Regions from separate parts of the Homo sapiens genome. Here regions 1 and 2 are each linked to region 3. The links are contacts of gene promoters, found by promoter capture Hi-C in human tissues and cell types (Jung and others, 2019). All regions are on one chromosome and are shown on one strand. Each heading gives the region's core, a stretch centred on a gene start or on the middle of the fragment in contact. The rest is flanking DNA. Distances are from core to core; before and after follow the strand shown.

Evidence for each region. The method cuts DNA at HindIII sites, captures the fragments that hold promoters and counts their contacts. A contact is called where the count stands out against the background at its distance.
Region 1: a contact is called between a fragment that was not itself captured here and the fragment with the promoter of SHCBP1 in region 3, in 1 of the 25 tissues and cell types used here (H1 embryonic stem cells).
Region 2: a contact is called between a fragment that was not itself captured here and the fragment with the promoter of SHCBP1 in region 3, in 1 of the 25 tissues and cell types used here (H1 embryonic stem cells).

The regions. Positions count from the first base shown.
Region 1 is chr16:46,671,247-46,675,099 of GRCh38, forward strand. It overlaps VPS35 (VPS35 retromer complex component), which reads right to left. Exons shown (of 17, transcript NM_018206.6): 9 at 3,318-3,414; 10 at 3,068-3,216; 11 at 1,019-1,226; 12 at 459-614. Among named protein-coding and RNA genes, the nearest start is that of VPS35, 16 kb to the right of the region's middle. RefSeq lists a silencer at 2,241-2,410. The HindIII fragment of the contact is 3,907 bases long and covers 1-3,341 here.
Region 2 is chr16:46,581,285-46,584,814 of GRCh38, forward strand. It overlaps SHCBP1 (SHC binding and spindle associated 1), which reads right to left. Exons shown (of 13, transcript NM_024745.5): 11 at 2,719-2,805; 12 at 2,232-2,373; 13 at 1-770. The coding sequence ends at 445. Among named protein-coding and RNA genes, the nearest start is that of SHCBP1, 38 kb to the right of the region's middle. The HindIII fragment of the contact is 4,695 bases long and covers 1-3,530 here.
Region 3 is chr16:46,620,125-46,623,743 of GRCh38, forward strand. SHCBP1 (SHC binding and spindle associated 1) reads right to left here and starts at 1,255. Exons shown (of 13, transcript NM_024745.5): 1 at 1,133-1,255. The coding sequence starts at 1,235. It also overlaps the pseudogene RAB43P1. RefSeq lists enhancers at 398-986, 987-1,573. The HindIII fragment of the contact is 15,901 bases long and covers 1-3,619 here.

The DNA of each region.
Region 1 (3,853 bases), core at 138-2,637, 51 kb after region 3:
AAATATAAGAATTGTATTTCTTATAAAGTTTATTATAAGCAATACATAGTTCAGAAAAAATGAACATGGAATAATTATCGGCACTCAAGCAAAAGAAGACAGACTTTTTTGTAATTCTCAGAGAGTCTTCAAAAGAAATCAGAGCAACTGAATTGTTACTCACATGCTCCAGAAGTTTACAAACAATTATGTGTTTATATATAAAGTAAAAGCCCATGGATGCCATGAATCTTTTTTTTTTTCGAGATGGAGTCTCGCTGTGTTGCCCAGGCTGGAGTGCAGTGGCACAATCTCGGCTCACTACAACCTCCGCCTCCCAGGTTCAAGTGAATCTTTAATTCAGTTGCAATTCCTTCAAAACCATCTAAGACCAGAAAGTGAATTAAACCATTTTAAGCACTTGAACATGTGATTTCACTAGGAGCTGATACAGGGATATACTAAGGGTAAACTCATACCAAGTACTGCTGGTCAGGGTCCTCAGAGCGCAGCAGATGAATGAAGCGGCCCACAAGGCTCTGCTCATCAGCAAAATCTTCTGGATCAGGGTCTTCTACAGGTTGATCTGGCTGATCTTGAATCAACGTGGATACCAAATTCATTATGGAATCCACCTGTAACATGCGAGGCACAAGAAACCCACTGAGGTGAAACCATTGGCATACAAAGCCATTATCAAAAGTGTTTCCAGTTATAAAATTACAATACAGTATCAACAAGATATTCCTTTTTTTGGTGAGAAAGTCGATACACATGTATGTCATACACACATATACAGACAAAAGTCTGGAAAGATATGCACCAAATGTTAATTAACAGTGGTTATTCTCTATCTGGTGGAATTATAAATGTTTTATAATTCTTTATACATCTCCAATTTTTAATTTATATAATGAAAAAGTTACTTGTAAATTTTATTTAGTATTGAATTACCCTCCCCTCCCATCTCAGGTATCTAGGTCCAAAGTCTAAAATTGTAACACTGTTTCCCTAAAATAGCACGTAGGTATTCTCTTACCTGGTCTTGAGAGACAATTTCTGTGTTATAATCCAGAACATTACTAAGCACATAACAACTCATGCTCTTTCTGGACTCGTAGTCAAAGTACTCAAAGAGTGGGTGAAAATGTTTTAATTTCAAGACTGTTAAAATATTGTTGTAAGTGTCAACTGGTATTTTCAAAAGTCTGGTGAGTTCCTTTGAAACTGCACTACTGGTAGCAATACTACAAAAAGAAAAACAGAAGTCTTAATGAATAAAATTAACTTTCTATATACACAAATAGCATTTGTTCCATAAGAATTTGAAATTTTTCATTACACATTAAAGGAAATGGGTCAAGTGAATCATACCACCACAGAAGACTATAACAACCTCCTTTCAGGAGGATAAAAATGCTTATCTAAACACAAATATATATTCATCTATTATTTTTCTGTTGATACAAAACTAGATACAGTTTCCAACTCATGAACAGATGGTATAGCTGGAGTTAAGATGACTGTCTAGAATTTGATGACATTTCTAAGGGAAGTATTTTAAGTGGTAGTTTGGTTCCCAGGGGCCAGCCAACAAGTATTGTATATTCATGATGAAAATAAATAGGAAAAAAACTCCATGCAAAACCAGCAATTTGACACAACAGAAAAACACATAAACTATTTCTTCTGCATCAGATGTTGGTGATTAAGGAAAAGCAGGCTGACTGACTTTTACGTAGTTGTTAGTAAAATCATTCTGTAGATATTGAGGCATATTGGGGCATTTATTACAACCTCTTTAGAGGTTGTTATTTCTAATTACTTTGTCTATTTTTACTTTAAAATTCACTTGGGGAGAAAGACACAGATACATCATTTAGTTTTTTTAATTTAAATTTTTTTTATTTTTAATTTTATTTTTTATTAGAGACGGGGTCTCGCTATGTTGCCCAGGCTGTTCTCAAACTCATGGACTCAAGTGATTCTCCCAATTCAGCCTCCTGAATAGCTGGGATTACAGGTGCAAGCCACCACACCTGGCACATCATTTAATTTTCTCTCACACTTATCATTCCACATCTGGACTTGTTTTCAGTTTGCACACACACAAAACCAAAAATGACCAAAAGAACAAGGGTAACACAAAGGGAGGAAAAAAAGAAGAAATTTTCTTGATGCAGGTAAACCACTGGAAGGGAGATAGAAAGGAGGAAGATTACATGAGGTAAAATTCTGAAGAATATGTTGGCGGGAGGCAGGCCTGGCTTGACCCAAGCCAGAGCAGTGGGGAACAGGGCAGGAAGGGAACTGCTGGGGAAGGTAACAGGATCATAGCTGCCCATAGTGGCCACTAGAGGACGCCATAAGTCTAGGACAGAACAGCTGAGGAGGCTTCAGGTTGGAAATAGTACTGTTGATATTTCCTTTAAGGTATCAAAATCAAAGCTCAAAATAGAAAAGATATTTAAACCAATTTAATTCTGCACCTTAAATATACATAGCCCCTCATTTTTCACCATGTGCTGATTCGTAGGAAAACACCACTTATGGAAATAAATACTGCCTGACAAAGTTTCCTTACCAGTTTAAGAACAAACTCAGTCACATGCAAGCTTGTCCAACCCAAAGCCCACAGGCCGCATGCAGCCCAGGATGGCTTTGAATGCGGCCCAACACAAATTCGTAAACTTTCTTAAAACATTATGAGTTTTTTTGGGATTTTTTTTTTAAGCTCATCAGCTATTGTTAGTGTTAGTGTATTTTATGTGTGGCCCAAGAAAATGCTTCTTCCAGTGCAGCCCAGGGAAGCCAAAAGATTGGATGCCCCTGACACACAGAAAGGGATCCAAATTGGAGACACTGGTCCCTGAAGACTGCCTATGGTCCATAGGTACCACAATTTCCTTAATATAAAAAAACAAGTAATTGGTCACTACTTTCTGCCCCTAGTAGTGCTAAGCATGACAATCTTAATGCATGATTAAAACAAGACAAATGCCAGCAGTTCAAAAAACAATTGAGAAAGAAAAGCAAATCTAGGACAAAAATATCTTTGAGGATTTTTACAAAAATGTAACTGACTTACTGTTCAAGGTTGAGCTTATTGAATATCTCCACTGTTGTTTCTAGAACTTTATCAACATAGTCCACACGATCAGGGTAACATTTCATGGCAAGATTAATCAGAGAGACTTGTAAAGATACAACATCCTCTGAAGGCATGTCTTGTCTAGACTGGAATGTTTAGAAAACCACACAATTTATTTTAAACAATTGTAAAAGGAAGGCAGAGAAGTTTCAAAGTTTTGAGAACTTAGGAGAAATGCTACACAAACCTGTATCACTGTAGCCACCTGCTGTGAAAATATATCAAAAAGTTTAATATCCGCTGGGATTCCAGGTCCATCTTCACGGTGAGCAAATAAAGCTAATCTAAAAAAAAAAAAAACACCCCTTTATTTTAAAAGATACAGGGTTTGGGTAGTGAGATCATGGATGACATCTTATTCTTTATTGCTTTTCTATATTTTGTATGAGCCCAAAAGGTTTTTGTTTTTTTTGTTTTGTTTTGTTTTGTTTTGAGACAGAGTCTCGCTCTGTCGCCCAGGCTGGAGTGCAGTCACGCACTCTCCACTCAATGAAACCTCCACCTGCTGAGCTCAGGCTATCCTCCTTCCACCTCAGCCTCCTGAGTAGCTGGGGCTAACAGCATGTGCCACCATACCCAGCTAATTTTTGTGTTTTCTGTAGTGATGGGGTTTCACCATGTTGCCCAGGGTGGTACTGACCTGGACTCAAGCAAGCCTCCCTCCTTGGCCTCCCAAAGTGCTGGGAATACAGATGTGAGCCACTGCACCCGGCCTCCTCAATT
Region 2 (3,530 bases), core at 150-2,649, 39 kb before region 3:
CAAATACAGGATGGAAATCAGACTCACTGTAATTGGGATGAAAAGGCAACTCTAAGAAGAATGCTGTACATATGACACCTATTGCATTTTTATGCACTAGTCTTGCATTCCCTTCCTTACTTCCTCGTCTTTGAAGTGCTAAAGGTAATTACACTAAAAAGTTACTACCAGGCTTAATATGAGAGAACCATGTGTATAAGAAAGCAAGACTTTCAGATAAGCAATCTCCAAATATTTTCTATTTTATATGCATTTATGATTTTTCTTATAAAGAGGGAGTGTTTTATGTGCAACACCTGCAAATGGAAATAAATCTACCTTTCACTCAAGCCCAAATAATCAAATATAAAATACAGACAATACAGCAAACTACAATGGCAGCAGTGATTCTTAGGGCAGCATGTGCAAAATCCAGTATTTTGCTATCTACTTACATCACTGTAGTCAGAAAAGAAATGTGCCAAAACTACCTTTCCCATTCCACTTGAACTGGTTCCCCACAATCCCAACAAACATCTCCTGTGACATTAAGTTGTCATCAGCTTGCGTGATCCCCAGTTCACTCAACCTTTTCTTCTTTATCTGGCCTTTCTGTGTGGAGGCAGCAATTAGTTCATTTACAATTTCACAATTTCCCTCGACTTGCTCAGAAGGGTCAGTTCTTGCACAAAGCTCCATTTTACCAGTTGCACACTCAATCAGCTCTTCTAGATCCACTCTTTCAGCCACATCTGGCTCTCCACTTGTCTGAATTTTAAGCGCTTTATTTTCTGGAGAAACAAACAAATAATAACAAAGTTAAATATACAAGCTAACCCAACAAAAACATATATTTCTACACAGTCTTCTCAACAAGCAGCTGCCTTGCTTTCTATACCAAGGTTCCCTGACCCTCACACAGGATCACCAATTTTGAACTCTTCCTTTACCCTTTTCATCCCAGAATCACTTTTACTCAACAGACATTTCCTGGATAGTTACTATCTGCTAAGCACTGCGTTAGGAGATAGGATGCACAGATTGATAAGATAGTGCCACTTTTCTAAATGAAGTCCCAATCTAGCAGCTAATTCTAGATAGGCCCCATGATCCCCACCCCCTGGTATTACTTTCATGCCTATTAAATGGCAGAAGAATTTTGCACTGTAATTTTACAATGTAATTAAGATTGCTAATCAGTTTTCTCCAGCTGGTTGCTAAAGAGGAAGTCAGAGAAATTCAGAGCATGAGAGATTTGCCTTGAGGGATGTTCTCTGTTGCTGAGATGGGGGGGCCATGAGGCAAGAACCTGAGAGCAGCCTCTAGGAGCTGAGTGCCAGCCCCAGCAAACAGCCAGCAGCCAGCAAGAAAATGGAGACTTCAGACCCATGAGCTAAAGGAATGAATTCTGCCCATGAATGATATGAATGCGTTTGGAGACAGAGTCTGCCCCCAGAGCTTTCAGATGAGTCCTGCCCAGCTGACACCTTTATTTTACTTTTGTGAGACCTGTGAAGAAATAAAGAACTTGCAGAGATGTAACTGGAGCAGATCCTGAAGGATGACAAGGACTACCCTTTAAACTCTTTCAACCTGAAAAAGCTGATTAAATAAATAAACTGCTTTAAACTTTCCTCACCTACATCAAAGCTTAATCCTTCTCTATGACTGAGACTTAATAGTGGTCTACATCATAGCTTGAAGTTCACAGATTTCCACTGAGTTAGCTCCCCTTCGCTGCCAAGAAAGGCAGGTGACAGGAAGGCATTTACTTCTACCAATAAAAACAGAGGTAAACTCCACTATCCCCTCCAGGAAATGCAGCCTTCAGCCTGGCACATTCATTTCACTGTCTCCAGCCTTAACAAACGCCAGTAGGAGCCACCATTGCTGTCACACACCCACTGTTGCTGTCACACACCCACCATAGCATCACACACCCACCATTGCTATCACACACCCATCGTTGCTATCACACATCCACCCTCATTGAAAGCTAACCATGATAAGAAGGGAACTGCACAGAAACCACAACATCAAGATTTTGAATGACAGTTGAACTAGTTGACCTTGAAAGTTTCTTTCACAGTCTGTAATGTTATGACTTAATGTTACCAAGCTTCTCTCTCTCCATGCCCAAGCATATCCCAACAACCTTTTTTAAGGAAGAGAGGAAGACTCAGATCCTTAATCAGCATTTAATGCTGAAATAAATTATGTCTGGTTTTTATATTAAAAATTACTAAATATACCTTCAGTTCCATCTTCAGCATTTTCTTGCAGGTCAGAGAAGATTGTAGGTTTCACCAAGACAACACCATAACCTTCATTATTATGTATTATATTATTCACCATGGATATCTTGGGAATGTCATAATGTTCATCTAAGAAGTCCTGTGACATTGAAAACAAATGTTTTAGGAACTGTCATATTCAACATTTCCTGCCTTAAAAATCTTCTTTATTCACACTATTCTAAAAATAAAAGGAAAAAGCTATGTTTAGTCCCATGTTGTAGCACAGTCTGCACCCTTAGTGACACAGCTTTCCTCTGTCATTTCTGCAGATCTATAGGTAACAGCATTCTCACAAGAGATTCCAATCACTGATATTATCAAAATGTGTACACTGTTTATGCTTTTCAAAACCAGAAAATAGAACCCAACAATTTAATAAAGCATAATTTGTAGGTAAAACCATTCTATCCATTGAAAAGTGGGTGTTTTGGCTGATGCTCACCTTAATGAGGATCCCTTCCTTGCAGTGATGGATCCCATTGTCACTCAGGGTGCACTGACTCCCAGGGTAGATTTCTATACCAGCACCCTGTGAGTCACAGTTTGAGATAATGACAATCAGTTTTTAAAAGGCAAGACTATAAGAGTTTATTACAATTACTTCTTAGCCTTTAACACAGTACAAATGTACAGCACAAAGATAAAGTACTTTACAGATAAGTTTTACCAGCCATTTTTAATCAACATTTCCATTTGTTCCATTTCTAGCAAGTTGTTGACAATTTATCATTTTCAAAACCACACACACACACACACACACACACACACACGCTAAGAGTGCCAACACTTGATTCTTGCTCTACTCTCTTTCATTCTAGATAAATGTTTTCTGATTCTGCCAAGAAAAAAAAAAAGTCATTTAACAATTTTGTTGAAAGACACACTTATTCAAAATGACCATTCTCTCAGATACTCAATTAGTTGGAGATAAGTATTTGAATTTAGTAAAATATTGTAATTTGAGGATAGAAACAAGACCCCACATTTTCCAAAACGTGTCAGTTTTAAAATACCCCAACCCAACTTAAAAATCATTTCTATGAGTCCAACAATGGCTTTCCCTACCACACACGTTAACATCAGCAGCCAGTTCAAGTGTCATTCAAACAGAGTAACCAGAAAGATCAAACATGACACTATTCTCTCATACCTTATGGCACCAAAAAACATAAAAATAGTAAGAATTTCTTTCCTAATGCTATGCAAGGCACTCTGGAAAACAAAAATGATTCACTCAAACCTCTATAGTTATTT
Region 3 (3,619 bases), core at 5-2,504:
GAATTAATATTTCCATCACCTCGCATAGTTACCTTTTGTGTGTGTGTGGTGTGAACACTTATGATCTACTCTGTTAGCAAATTTCAAGTACAAAATTTGTGTCGCATTGCACCATCACGTCATTGCCTATTAATACTGTAATAATAATACAGTATTATTAACTATAGTCACCATGCTGTATGTACATCAGATCCCCAGAACTATTCACACTGCATAACTGAAACTTTGGACCCTTTGCCCAGCATCTCCCCATTCCCCCAACCCACTGGCAACTACCACTCTACTCTCTTTCTGAAACTTCCTCTTTTTTAGATTCCCAATATAAGCGATGCCATGCAGTATTTATTTTTGCAGCCACTTTAAAAACTTTATTTCACTTCAACTTCACCACAAGTACAACCATTGGCATAGTCTTCCAGATGGGAAAACTGAAGCCAAGTGACTTTTGCCAGTTGGATAGGTGGGTTAATAGTGGAATTGTCACACTTATGTTTTCTCACTTTGTTGGGACTCTCTGCTACACAATACAACCGAAAGTGTTAACGTAAAAACATGAACCAGCTTAAAATATCAGAAAAAAAAAATAGTAATGAAACTCTATGAGGAGGAAGAAAGGGCAGAGAACTAGAAGACCCCGGTTCTATTTCTGGACTCCGGCCCAAGTTGGCGCTCCTCACTTTGGACACGTCACTACCCTCCGTGCACAGGACAGCCATCTAAGCCAAGGGTTCAAGCTTTTCTCTTCTTCGGAAAAGGGAAGTGTGGTTCGTGATCTCCTTTGAGATGCAGATGAAAAAATGGCCCCTTGAGCAACAGTAAATGCACAGTTCCCGCAAAACCCATCCAGATAGGGAATTCCTGGCCCAATCCAGCTCCCTCCAACCTCGGGGCGGGCGGAGGCCAGAGAGTGCAGGGAGAGTGGGAGATGCGGATAGGGAAGAGAGGGAGTCCCCCACCCCTGGGTACCGCCCGACTTTGAGGTCCCGTCACTGGGTCCCGGCCGCGCACCGCCGTTCCCGCCACCCTGGACAGACGGGTCCGGAAGGCCCGCGACCCAGGCGCCCTCCTAGGGTCCCGACGCCCCAGGCCTCCGCTCAGAGGCGGCTCCTCGGCCCCGGCATGGAGAGCTCACCTTTCTCCAGAGACGCCAGCTCCTGCTCCACCGCCCAGCCCATGCGCTCCGGCGCCATGGCCGCTGCCTCCAGACCGCCGCCCGTCAGCGACCCGTCAGCCATTTCAAATTTCCGCGGACGGCAGCCCAGGCAACGACGTGATGACGCAGGCTCTGCTGATTTGATAGTCGGGCCGAGGCCGTGGACCAATTAGAGTCCGGCCCCGCTCCAGCCCCCACCAACACTGCCCCCTCGCCCCAGGCTGACAGCTGTTCTTGTTCAAGTGCCCGGCCTTTGCTTTTCTGGGATGAACTTGAAGAAAGTCGAATTGGAATATAATTTGGAATGATTTTCGAAAAAAACGAACCAGCAATGCCTGGAAATGAGATATAGTGGAAAAGTCACTGGGTTGAGAGTCAAAAAACATAGTATTTAAACTTACCTGGGCTATTCCTAGTGGTATTGCCTTGGGCAAGTCATTTCACCTCCCACAAGCACAACTTCAACTGAAAAGGATGCTGGCCTACGTGGGCCCAAAACTTTCACCACCAAACACCAGTCTCTCTCTGTCTTTCAATACACACACACACACACACACACACACAGAGAGAGAGAGAGAGAGAGAGAGCATATTTTCAAAGAATGTCAAATTAAATTTAGTAAGTAAATTTGTTAATTTGCATTAATCAAAGACAACTATAATCTCCATCATAATGGCTAACATTTACTGCATATTGTGTGCAAGATACCCTCCTGCATGCGTTACCTGGATTGTTCTGTTTAATCTTCACAATGATCCTATGAGACGGGAGCTATTACTATACCCATTTTACAAATGAGCAAATGGAGTCACTAAGAAGTTAAGTCACTTCTCCAATCTAACCCAGCAAAGCCAGGATGTGAAACCAGCCAGACTCCATGAAGAAGCCTTTTAATGTCTCTGCCAGGCCATCACTACTAGAATGATGAGGTCAGCCCAAGATAGCCCAGGTAACCAGGACACCAAGTGGGATGCGTCCACAGGGGACCAAGAGCCTGGTCATGACAGTTCGTCTGTGCAGTCTTAATGTGGGGAAACATTTCCACTTATTGCTTTGAAGAAACACCTTGGGCTAAAGTCTCTCGGATCCCTTACAGCTGAAATAAAATGGAGCCAGGAGGGGTGACTGGAAAGCTGCACTTAATTGGGCTAACTTTTCCAGGAAGTAAGATTTCTTTGACTTTTGTTTGCAGAATCTGACCTTACATTTATTTGCTCACTGAACAAATACATATTGAGCACCATGAGGTAAAAACACAGAAAACAATAATCAAGACTATCAACAGGCCTTGAGGATGACGCTAGCTTTTTCATTATTCTCTTCTTCAACCTTGCCGCCCACAAACCTCACAAATGGCAGCATTTCTCCTCACCCATTTGCAGCATCACTGGAGACAACACAGTTCTCTTCTCATCCAATTATCAAATATTTCATCAACCATCAAGATATTACTCAAACCAGGCTAGGCATAGTGGCTCATGCCTGTAATCCCACCACTTTAGGAGACCGAGGCAGGCGGATCACTTGAGTCCAAGAGTTTGAGACCAGCCTAGGCAACATGGTGAAACCCCATCTCTACAAAATTTTTTTTTTTTTTTTGTTATAGAAATCTGTTTAATGGTTTAGGAATGTGTACACTCTGGCTCTGCCAAGTTTCCATAAAGGCAACTTTTCCATGTTTTAAAAAATAGATTTGGTATAAAGATTTGTATATTCATAAATAGGTGGCATGAAAAATTACCAAATGCAAATGGAATACTTGCGCTGACTGAAGCCCTGTTCACCCCAAGTCCAGGCCCTGCAGGGGTCCGAGGGTCTCTGCTGGAGGAGGCCCCAACTCCGGCAGCCTCTTAGGGAAGAGAAACTGAATTAAATGTGTATTAGGAACCCCTCCAGCTCCTTAAGCCAGCGTCGCACTGGCCCCACCGAGGCCTCAGCCCACCTCCCTCTGCTTCCCCCCGCCACCTCCACCATTGCCCCCTCCCCTGCACTCTGGCCCCTGACCCCACCTGCTCCCACTCTTTGGCAATTTATCAACAAAGGAAGAGATGACACTGTTCTCCTTCCGCCCCAGAGCCCGGGCTGCCGGGAGAGCTTAGCCTGCCAAGGGGAGGAAACAAGCCGGCTTTGTTTTGTCTCACACACTTCCCCATCTTCTCTCCCAGCCCAGTTTTAAGGGCCGGAAGGGCAGTGGGGCCCCCTCCTGGTGGGATACAGCAGGGCAGGAGCCCCTGCAACCCCAGGTACAGGTCTTGAGTCCCTGGACACCGGCTTTTGTGCCTGAGAGGGGGTGGGAACGCTTCTCTGTAGGAAATGGCTTCAGTCCAGGATCCAGGGGTAGGGGAACCTCGACCATGGGGTGGGTTGCTCCTGCCAGGGGGTACTAGGGGCAAGGCCCCAGGGTGGAGCCAGTTCTGGGAGCTGTGTCCAGCTAGGCATCTGTGACCCCAAATGGCATGAATAAAA